3 separate regions of the Homo sapiens genome follow, and regions 1 and 2 are each linked to region 3. The links are contacts of gene promoters, found by promoter capture Hi-C in blood cells and fetal thymus (Javierre and others, 2016). All regions are on one chromosome and are shown on one strand. The core of a region is centred on a gene start or on the middle of the fragment in contact, and the rest is flanking DNA. Distances in the headings are between cores, read along the strand shown.

The links. Contacts are between HindIII fragments. The CHiCAGO score rates a contact against its expected background, and 5 or more counts as called.
Region 1: a fragment that was not itself captured here is called in contact with the fragment with the promoter of PTGER2 in region 3 in 2 of 17 cell types (M2 macrophages and megakaryocytes); the score reaches 6.3 in M2 macrophages.
Region 2: a contact is called between a fragment that was not itself captured here and the fragment with the promoter of PTGER2 in region 3, in 1 of 17 cell types (naive CD8 T cells). The highest score is 5.1, in naive CD8 T cells.

Annotation. Positions count from the first base shown.
Region 1 is chr14:52,644,995-52,648,915 of GRCh38, reverse strand. ERO1A (endoplasmic reticulum oxidoreductase 1 alpha) reads left to right here. Exons shown (of 16, transcript NM_014584.3): 14 at 2,455-2,541; 15 at 2,629-2,762. Among named protein-coding and RNA genes, the nearest start is that of ERO1A, 49 kb to the left of the region's middle. The HindIII fragment of the contact is 1,398 bases long and covers 1,140-2,537 here.
Region 2 is chr14:52,003,218-52,006,794 of GRCh38, reverse strand. RTRAF (RNA transcription, translation and transport factor) reads right to left here. Exons shown (of 8, transcript NM_016039.3): 7 at 2,553-2,601; 8 at 1-2,433. The coding sequence ends at 2,279. NID2 (nidogen 2) reads left to right here. Exons shown (of 22, transcript NM_007361.4): 20 at 135-258; 21 at 946-1,058; 22 at 1,299-1,986. The coding sequence ends at 1,309. Among named protein-coding and RNA genes, the nearest start is that of RTRAF, 15 kb to the right of the region's middle. The HindIII fragment of the contact is 8,552 bases long and covers 1-3,577 here.
Region 3 is chr14:52,312,362-52,316,237 of GRCh38, reverse strand. It overlaps PTGER2 (prostaglandin E receptor 2), which reads right to left and starts at 1,926. Exons shown (of 2, transcript NM_000956.4): 1 at 847-1,926. The coding sequence starts at 1,689. RefSeq lists enhancers at 1,032-1,171, 1,192-1,341, 1,576-2,135, 2,136-2,696 and a silencer at 1,862-1,971. The HindIII fragment of the contact is 17,361 bases long and covers 1-3,876 here.

The sequences.
Region 1 (3,921 bases), core at 589-3,088, 330 kb before region 3:
TAAGTTCACTTAAGCAGAAGATGCATGCTATTTGATGTGCTTGGTTTTAATTTTACAATGTTTATTTGGCTATTGTAAGCAGCCATGCCTGCTCTCTGTACATGTCATACAAAGACTTACTCAAGAGCTGTCACATTCAAGTATTTGAATTAACGTAGAAGCAAACATTGAAATTAGCGTCTACAAAAGCAAGCACAGTCTTTTAGAACAGAGGCTTCCAACTCTCACAAGTATGGGAGTCTCTTATACTCAGGAACTTTCAAGGCCTCTTCTCATGACAGAGTATTTTTAGTATCTGTTGATTTTGAAAATATGATTGCCAAAAAGCCACCATGCATTTAGTAACACTTTAAAAGTAAAAGTTGTGTTTTATTGATCATAACATTTCTATCCATTTGGAAATTTATAGTGCATATATGTGAGCTATTTATTCTGTGGTATATAGTCTTGTCTCTATGTGGATTCTGTGGATCCTCATAATAACCATTAAGTCTTCTGGAAGTCAACAGCTCATAGGATGGGAACATGTTCTTTAGGGTAACTTTCTTACTCTGTTATTATTGTTAAAAGTGTGATTTTTCTTTAAGTTTTGGTCAATGCTCTAGTTTAAAGGCAACCTAAAATCAGATCACAGAATCTTTGTAGAGTAATATTACCGGTTAGTTTTAAGTAGGTTTAAAATTAGTACCTGTTGCTTGGATGTCATGTGGTCATAAAAATAAAAAAAAAATAGTACCTCTTACTGTACAGGTACTGAAACCAAGATAGAGAATATTATTAAGATATGGTAACAATGAACAATTTGGGCTTTGTCTTAATTAATAAAGATATTACATCTTAGATCCTATTAAAACTTTCTTTCATGTTACAGCTGTTTGAAAGTCACAAACTGAATAAAGCATGTTGGGAAAGTCTGTCTCCAGAGCAAATTGAGGTTTCCTTTGAATAGTGGGTTCCAATCATTGATTTATTCCTATTTTAGATTTGTGGTCCTGCCTTCATCTGGTTGAGCCTAGTGTGTGGTTTATCACATTAGAATAAGAGAAATACTGTGTGCTCCCTAAATTATAGGCCAATTTGTATAATGGATGTTCTATCTGAGATGTATGTCAGATTTCCTGCTAAGAATACTGTAAGCTTGAGATTCCCCTCTTAGTCCAGTACAGGAGTCTCTTGGAGGATCAGTTGGTAATTTCCATTGAAGGAAAAGAAGGATGTGTTCTTGGCTTCCCTTCTTTTTTCCATATTCCTTAAGGACATATACTATGTTTAGATTAGCTGGATGCATGTCGCCCTATTATAAATGATATAATATTCTAGGGTTCATGGATGTATACATATGTATTAAAAGCATAAAAACAAAAAGGGAACAATGCCAAATTCAATATAGTAGTAGAGGGTGGGATATGGGACTCGAGAGATAACATGAGGGGCTTCGATTGTACTTGTGACAAATTTTTCTAAAACTTGGTAGTGGGTATGTGGCATTCACTATATTTTATATATTTTTGCATTTTAATAGTAATAGTAATTTAATATTAACAAAGGAAGACCTGATTGTTTACCTTATTCATACCAGAAAGAAGGGCTGTGGTTGAATTATTATGAAACCAAAGGGCTGGGCACAGTGGCTCACGCCTGTAATCCCAGCACTTTGGGAGGTCGAGGTGGGCGGATCACGAGGTCAGGAGATCGAGACCATCCTGGCTAACATGGTGAAACCCTGCCTCTACTAAAAAAAAAAAAAAAAAAAAAAAAAAAAAAAAAAAAAAATTAGCTGGGCGTGGTGGCAGGTGCCTGTAGTCCCGGCTACTCAGGACGCTGAGGCAGGAGAATGGTGTGAACCTGGGAGGCAGAGCTTGCAGTGAGCGAGATTCCCCCACTGCACTCCAGCTTGGGTGACAGGGCGATACTCTCAAAAAAAAAAAAAAAAAAAAAAAAAGAAACCAAAGGATTTTTTTTTTCCTTTCCATTCCTGCCTTCTCTCATTCCCTCCCTCCATTCCTTCTGGTAAATGATGCTCTCTAACCCTGTCTCACCCTCCTTTCTCCACCTATTGACATATAGTTAATCACCTACAATGGACACCTTGACAAAGTTATTTTGTATATTTTTGCAGATAGTTTAGCTTTGGAGTCAGACAGGCCTGGTTTCTAAGTTTTTTGTTTACTAGATGTGGGAATTTAGGCAAGTTACCTAAACACTCTGAATCTTGTTTTTTACATTCATTAGGTGTAGATTATAATAATAACTACCTTTGGATTTGTGGTGAAGATTAAATGAGATTGTGTATGTAAGGATCTGGTATGTAGAATCAATGAATATTAGTGCTGTTCTCATTTTTGGTACCCCATAGTACCTTGCACAGTGTTAGGCACATAGAACCTGCTCAGAAAATACTTACTAATTGACTGTATATTACATCTTAATAAAATCTTGTTAAATTGTTTTCAGGAGGACTTTCGACTGCATTTTAGAAATATTTCAAGAATTATGGATTGTGTTGGTTGTTTTAAATGTCGTCTGTGGGGAAAGCTTCAGGTAAGCAAATTTAGTCATTCCTATTTCTCATTTACCCTTTGCATGAATAATTTTCTAATTTTTCTTTTTTCCTTATTTCTATTACAGACTCAGGGTTTGGGCACTGCTCTGAAGATCTTATTTTCTGAGAAATTGATAGCAAATATGCCAGAAAGTGGACCTAGTTATGAATTCCATCTAACCAGACAAGAAATAGTATCATTATTCAACGCATTTGGAAGGTTAGTTTGAATGTACTGAAATGCTTCTGGTAGCCAAGTAAGTCTAATGCAACATATATGCTCTCAGAAAAAACTGGGTAAGGAATATCCTTTTTATTTTATTTGTTTATTTATTTTTGAGACGGAGTTTTGGTCTGTAGCCCAGGCTGGAGTGCAGTGGCGTGATCTCGGCTCACTGCGACCTCCACCTTCTGGGTTCAAGCGATTCTCCCAACTTAGCCTCCCAAGTAGCTGGGATTACAGGTGCGTGACACCACGCCTGGCTAATTTGTGTGTGTGTGTGTGTGTGTGTGTGTGTGTGTGTGTATTTTTAGTAGAAACACGGTTTCACCATGTTGGCCAGGCTGGTCTTGAACTCCTGACCTCAGGTGATCTGCCAGGCTCCACCTCCCGAAGTGCTGGATTACAGGCGTGAGCCACTGTGCCCAGCCAGGAATATTTTTTTTGAAGAAATCATTTCATTACAGAATTATGGGATATTATGAAATACCTCCAGTATGTAGACATATACAATTAGTACATGATCGTCTTTATTTTCCTCTATTGACTTTTATAATCATAATTAGGGCCGGGCACGGTGGCTCATGCCTGTAATCCTAGCACTTTGAGAAGCCAAGGTGGGTGGATCACTTGAGGCCAGGAGTTCAAGACCAGCCTGGCCAACTCTACTAAAATCAAAAAAAATTAGCCAGGCATGGTGGAGCATGCCTGTGGTCCCAGCTACTCAGGAGGCTGAGGCAGAAGAATCGCTTGAACCCGGGAGGCAGAGGTTGCAGTGAGCCGAGATCATACCACTGCACTCCAGCCAGGGTGACAGAGCAAGACATCATCTCAAAAAAAAAAAAAAAAAAGTGTGTATATGTATGTATAAAATCATAATTATAATTACTCATTGAATTTTAATATTCATCTTATCGAATTTGTACATTAAAAATTGCTTAAAAGCAGTTTTTTTATCCAATTATTTTTCTGATAGTGGTAGAAAAATCATGTTGTTTAACATAGGTGTACATGTAAATCTCTTTGTGAACTCACCATTATATAAAAAGGTTAATAATTCTTTTAAAAATAATTATTTCCTATCAAAATGATTAAAGAAAAGCATGAAATAAGGAACTTACATTAAAATATTTAAGTACAGATGCATTTCCTTCTGGCC
Region 2 (3,577 bases), core at 763-3,262, 310 kb after region 3:
AGTTGCTAATCTATGACTGTAATGGAAGTAAAATATCCTATTTCCCCATTCTATCACTGTGTCACTATCACTATGTCACTATCATTTTTGGCAAAGCAGCTGAAGGACCTCATTTTCCCCCTTTGTTTTAAAAGGAACCAAAAAACTGGAGTGTACACTACCTGATGGAACTGGACGGCGTGTCATTCAAAACAACCTCAAGTACCCCTTCAGCATCGTAAGCTATGCAGATCACTTCTACCACACAGACTGGAGGAGGTGAGCCCCACAAATTCTGGACAAGCCTGAAAAGGCCAACTGTTCCAGAGGACACACCACTTGTTTTACCAAAAGTCAGTACCTGACTTGACTCATTAAGCCCTCTGAGGCTTTTGTTTCATCACCTCCTCATTGGCAGATAAGATCCTTCAAGGATGTTTTTCATCCTTTCATGTTTTTGAAATCATCCTTTTACTTCACCCAGAAATCGAATGGTATTGCTCACATATAGCTTAAAAAGTAGCAAAGCTATTGGATAATGTCTCAAAAGGGAGCATATTAATCTAAATATGTTCTTTAGAGAATAAGACTACCCTTGATACCATGAGCTATATTACAGGGCTTAAGTTGGCTTTTGACACTGTGGACATATTGTCTGAGGGACCGAAAAATACTATTTAGACTAGTTCTCAAATGAGGAACTGTGGAACATTAAAGTCTAAGCCCTTTACACCATGCCCTACAACTCTGATTTGATAGCTCATCATGTGATTCTAACATGCAGCTAGAGATGAGCAATGGATTTAGAGCAATGGTCTTCAAACTTCAGTATGGCTTTAGCACCAGCCCTGGGACAGAGAAGGCTGCCAGAAATTTTCCTCTATTGCAACTGATTTTCTGTGGCTGACTGACTTCTTTATCTAGTAAATGACTGTCCCTGAATTCACTCTTCCTTTCTGTTACCAGGGATGGTGTTGTATCAGTAAATAAACATAGTGGCCAGTTTACTGATGAGTATCTCCCAGAACAACGATCTCACCTCTACGGGATAACTGCAGTCTACCCCTACTGCCCAACAGGTAAAAAGTATGCTTTAGGATGCTCCTTTAAATTAGCAGGGTAGAGAAGGGATATATATGGTATTTGATTACCCCTGCTGCCTGTGACACTGCCACCATTGCCTTCTTCCTGCCCTGAGGGCCAGTCTTTACTACCTTAAATCTACCTAGTTTATACACAAAATGCAAAGACTTGCTGTTGCAACTTGGTTACAATATACTCACCCACCACCCTGTCCCACCCCTGCTCTTCTCTCACAGGAAGAAAGTAAGTACAGTAATGTAAAGGAAGACTTGGAGTTTACAATCAGAACCTGGACCCTAAAGAACAGTGACTGCAAAGGCAAAGAAAGTAAAAAAGGAATTGGCCATTAGACGTTCCTGAGCATCCAAGATGAACATTTTGTAGTGCAAAAAGACTTTTGTGAAAAGCTGATACCTCAATCTTTACTACTGTATTTTTAAAAATGAAGGTTGTTATTGCAAGTTTAAAAAGGTAACAGAATTTTAACTGTTGCTTATTAAAGCAACTTCTTGTAAACATTTATCATTAATATTTAAAAGATCAAATTCATTCAACTAAGAATTAGAGTTTAAGACTCTAAACCTGATTTTTGCCATGGATTCCTTCTGGCCAAGAAATTAAAGCACATGTGATCAATATAACAATATAATCCTAAACCTTGACAGTTGGAGAAGCCAATGCAGAACTGATGGGAAAGGACCAATTATTTATAGTTTCCCAACAAAAGTTCTAAGATTTTTTACCTCTGCATCAGTGCATTTCTATTTATATCAAAAGGTGCTAAAATGATTCAATTTGCATTTTCTGATCCTGTAGTGCCTCTATAGAAGTACCCACAGAAAGTAAAGTATCACATTTATAAATACCAAAGATGTAACAATTTTAAAATTTTCTAGATTACTCCAATAAAGTGTTTTAAGTTTTCCTATGACTTAAGGATCTATATTGTCTCTAGGACAAAGCTGGGGGTTGGCATATATGCCTTAACCACAAAGGAGAAAGGTGATTTATGCAAACATACAGTACATAATAAAAATTCTACTTTCCTAAACTTTATTAAAGAAAAAAGCAATAAGCAATGGTGGTAAATCTCTAGAACATACCCAATTTTCTGGGCTTCCTCCCCCGAGAATGTGACATTTTGATTTCCAAACATGCCAGAAGTGTATGGTTCCCAACTGTACTAAGTAGGTGAGAAGCTGAAGTCCTCAAGTGTTCATCTTCCAACTTTTCCCAGTCTGTGGTCTGTCTTTGGATCAGCAATAATTGCCTGAACAGCTACTATGGCTTCGTTGATTTTTGTCTGTAGCTCTCTGAGCTCCTCTATGTGCAGCAATCGCAGAATTTGAGCAGCTTCATTAAGAACTGCATCTGTTTTATGAGAAAAGAACACTGCTTCAATACATAATTTTTACATTTAAGGCCATTTATTTCCTCCCAAGTATTCAGTCTGTAAAAAAAATAGTTTGAATTTAAACAAAATCACTTACCTCCTGTGTCAAAACCAAGAATATGTTTGTCTAAAGCAACAGGTAAGCCCTTTAAAAAAAGAAAGACAAAATGAGAGTATTTATGGTTAAGAATAGCATCCTTTCCTCAACTGAAACTGAAAAGCACCTAGCTATTCTGGTGTCTTAACTCTTTTAGCTGCATGGGCAAGGGAACTAGGAATTTTGTTTATATTTGCTTTGTGATGATTGTGATTAGCGAGTTTTCCCTATTTCAACCGGTTAGGGGGAAAAGTTAACCTTTAAATGTACCAGGAAGCTCTATAGCTCATCCAATCCTTTAGCCCAGGCATACAAAACAATATATCCTTATTGCAGCAGTGCCTTGTCATTACTGCTATGGAAGGCAAGTTGAGCCAGGCTGTTACTGTCTTATTTTGGCGACAGTAAGCAACAGTATAAACGGCAAAAATAGTACCTTATATTCCATTTCTGAGCACATTAATTTGTCTTTACAAATTGTACGAACCTTTCAGCCAGCATGGTGTTTGCCAAGATTATGTATAATTATGTATAATTTAACTTTCAAGACTTGACTTGGAAGTTACTTTGAAACAAACAGTCTAGGAAAATGAAAAACTAAACCACTCAGCACCTATGGACATACTAAAGATGGTGACTATGGTGATGCCAAACTTCACAGAAACAAATTCTAAAATGAGGACAGTCTGTACTTCCTGCTGATTATATAAAATCACTGCCAAGAAAAACACACTACCCGTACTTTCAATCTTTCAATGTTACAACCTGTTACTATTCAAATGCTTTAGTCACTGCTCAATTCTTGCCTTATCTAGTAATGTAAATCTACGTAGGCTCTGTCTGCTTTAAAACAGCTAACACATGTAAGTCTGAAGAAACCAATGGGTACGAAAGCACAAGTGAGCAAAATTAAAGAGCAGAATTGTACTGAGTGGCTTTATATGTTCATCTAGTACCAGAGGCTCCACTTTTTTTTCCTTTGCCAACAGGCCACCAAGCTACCCCTGAAAACTACCATATGCCTC
Region 3 (3,876 bases), core at 677-3,176:
CCCACTCTTCCCTTCCTGAGAGGGACCAGCCATTCCTGCCTGTGGCTTTGTGCTCATCAAGTGCATAACTGTAAGCTGAAGGACACCTGTGTGTATTTCTGACAGTGACATTAAGAGCGTGTTTTGCAAGATATTACAAATGCTTAGCAAGATGTTCCTCCAAGTATTTCCTCTAGTTATCATTATGGTTTTATAAACTTTCATGGCCACAAAGAGTTACATTCAAATATATAAATTGGGAAACCTATAAACTAGATGTTTGTTGGACTTTTAGGACAAATAACAAATGCTCTAAACTTCTGCTTCAGGGACCCTTCTCATCTGGGACCATTTTCAATGGCAGCTGGAATGCTATGGGTTGGGTACTACATTTTGCCCTGGCAGGAACAGAAGGCAAGCATGGAGAACCAGCACCAGTGGATGAGAGGTACAGGGCAGCAAACTGCAGCTCCAGGTCGTCAGGCTGGAACAGTGACAGCCATCCTAAGGTGGAAGGGGCTGCCTCTTTCTCAATTACTAAGCCAAGATAGGCAACAGCGAGAAAGGGACACTGCCCAGGGCTAGGATGAGGAGATTGGCTAGCTTAGCTGAGGCCCAGGACTCCCTTTCGGACGGTCTGTATTATTGTATAAGAAACTCTAGCCTAGCAACGCCCATAAGCCAGGATAAGGAAGTGGGCTAAAGAGGAGGGGAAACTAGTGGGGAAGGCTACAGATCTTTACAAATTAGGACATATTTTTACAAGTTGCAAAAAGTTTGTAGGGCGGTGGAAAGGGTGGAGGCGTCAGGGGAGAGCATGAGAAGGCTGAGCAGAGCCGGGCTGTGGAAACGTAGGGAGTGACTTACCGTGAAAGGCAAGGAGCAGACGGCGAAGGTGATGGTCATGATAGCCAGGAGAATGAGGTGGTCCGTCTCCTCCGCCATGGACACCCTTTCCCCTCTCCTGCGGGCCCCGGGGCCGCCCCGGCCACTGCCCAGGGAAGGTCCGCAGCGGCTTCTCCGGCTTCGGCGGTGCATGCGGATGAGGTTGAGAATGACACTGAAGTTGCAGGCGAGCACCGAGACAATGAGAAGCAGCAGCAGGGTGGCGTACAGCTGCAGGTAAGCGGTCCGCCCGTGCCGGATGAAGCACCAGGTCCCGGGGCAGTACTGGACGTACTGCCCATAGTCCAGCAGCGGCAGCGAGCAGAAGAGCAGGGAGACTGCATAGATGACAGGCAGCACGGCCAGGCCCCCGGAGCGCGAGACGCGGCGCTGGTAGAAGTAGGGGTGCCCGATCGAGAGGTAGCGCTCCAGGGCCATGGCGAAGAGCATGAGCATCGTGGCCAGGCTGAAGAAGGTCATGGCGAAAGCGAAGTAGGTGCACGCGCGGCTCTCGGGCGCCAGTGCCACCAGGGTCTGGTTCCGCGCGTACGAAGCCAGTACCACTGGGCTGATGAGGCAGGTCCCGAGCAGGTCGGTGAACACCAGCTCGGTCACCAGCACGTGGAACAAGGAGAGGGAGCTCCTGCGGCCGGCGCTGCACCCCACGTCCCCCCGCCAGCGGCGCGCCAGCAGCGCCAGTGCTATGAGGTTCCCCAGCACCCCGGCCGAGAACATGACGGAGCTGATGGCTGGGCTTTCGCCTGGGGGAAGCCACTGTCGCGTCTCGCAGTCCTCAGACTGGGAGTCATTGGAGGCATTGCCCATGGTGGGGTGCCTGGAAAAGAGATGCGCCCTCCTCTCCCGGCCTTTACCTGGGAGGAAGAGGGTCTGAGAGCCGGAGCGTTCCGAGACTCAGAGGAAAAAGGGGAGGGACCGAAATCCAGAGCCCCCTTCCCGCACCCAGCGCGCCGACGGCGGCTTGCCCTGGGTCTCCCGCCGCGCGCCGAGTGGCGGCTCGGCTGCTGCATCCGAGCGGCGCTCGAGGCTCCCGCGCCTACCCGCGCCGGCCAAGGCCGGGAGCCAGAGCCTAGGGGAGCCGTCGTCTCCGCCCCCGCACTGTCGGGGGGCGGGCCCAAGAGTGCTGGCCAGGCCTTGCAAGTGCGAGTGTCCGCGAGCTGCAGGGGAGGCAGGACGCGTCACACTCGCGGGGGCGTTCCGAGTCCCTGGGGCGCGCCGGCGGGGAGGGAGAGAAGGAGTCTGAGCACCCGCTGGGCGCGGCACTGGGCAGAGGCGCGCGTGTTGCCGGTGTACTGAAGCTGCCCGCGACCGGCGGGAGCGGCGTTTCTCGCTTCCTCGGGGTCCGGTACTCGAAGCGCACGGCAGTCTGACCTCGGCTGGGAAGCGTTAAGCCCCAGCAGAGGGCTGGGAGGGAGTGCAGGAGCACTTGCGGGGTCTGCGCAGAATACACAGAAGATCGGGGCAACGAGCAAAGCAAAGCAACTCACCAAACAATGAAGTTAGGAGAACCCAATCCCGTGAAATGAGCGGAACAAGGGAATAACAGTGCAAAGGCAGCTTGAAGTAAGACCAGAATGTTTTGCTTTGTTTTTACTATTCCCAGGAAGATACACTAAGAGGTTGGGACAAAAATTGGGATGAAGCGTAAAGCAAGTGTGTCCATCCAAGGAACCAAACCACACAATGCGCACCACCGAGCGGCCTGTTGCACTGCCGCTTTGATTCGGTTACTAGCATTTCACCGTTTCCTATGTCAACAGCATAACGGATAACCACTTGTTTAAGCAACCATTAAAAAAAGAGGAGTGTGTCTTATACAGAATTGTGTTTGTGGATACAACATGAAAACCATTGCACATCACTGTTCTGTCCTTAAGCTGAGCCTTGTAAGAAAATGTTGATATTTTGTTTAGCCGTTTATCTTTACATGTTGTTAACCACGTAGTATCCATCCAGAAAGACTTGTTCCTGGCAAAGTGTATTGGTAAGTGGCCAGTTTCAGACTGGAGCTGACAGTAATGGTTTCCTACCACATATTGTCATAATTGCAGAGTCGTGAAAATGGGCTGATATTTAACACAAAACAAAACAAAACAAAATCCAGTTTGGCAGACAACATAGGTAATTGTGTTCTGTAAGAAGTCACATTCACTTGGGGAAGGGAGGCCAACTGGGAAGTGAAGGGTCTGATCTGCCTAGGGAACTGGCAAGAAAGACAGTCATAACGTGGGAGGAAGCAAAGATTGCCTGCTGAAGAGCCTATCTTGCTACAGCCTGCTTACTCTCCATGAATATTTTTTGCCAACTTTGATGATTCTGGCCTGGGGATTGGAATGCGGAGTTGGGGGGGGTGGTTCCCACTAGAACAAGCATAATTTACTGGATCGCTTGCAAAGTTTACAGGCCGGTTTTCACATGTCAGCAGGCACTACTTCAATCCCTAAACTTCTCATGGCATGGATTCCTAGGAAAGAGGATCTTAACTCCTACAGTTTTTCTTTCAAGCTGTAAACTCTGCAGGTCAGTAACAACTTATTACCAATCTTTGCCATCCATCTCTGACTATTCCCCTACTCCAACATTCCCCCATCTCACCCCAAGCAATGGGGAAACATCAAACTTAAATCAGAAGTATTTCTTAATAGGAAAACACTATGATTTATAGCATAATTCTGCACTGCAGTTTTACTATTAAATAAGGGATTTTAGATTCACTGAATTTGCACAGTGCTTATTTTCCGAATATTTTTATACCTTTTTAATTTTCATAAGGCCCCTCACAACAAAAACCTACTATTTAACCTTTCCTATATATTTGTCTCTAGCTTTTCTTTGGATGGGTACCTGGTGGCAGGCCGGCCCCTGGTTTTTGTGAATACGAGAGCAAGAGTGCAGTTGAAGATCCTCCCCCAGGCCCCTGCCCCCTTGTCTTCCTAACCCCTGACTCAGTCTTGCACCACAAGGAGTCTTGCACAGAAATATGTGGAGAGTATA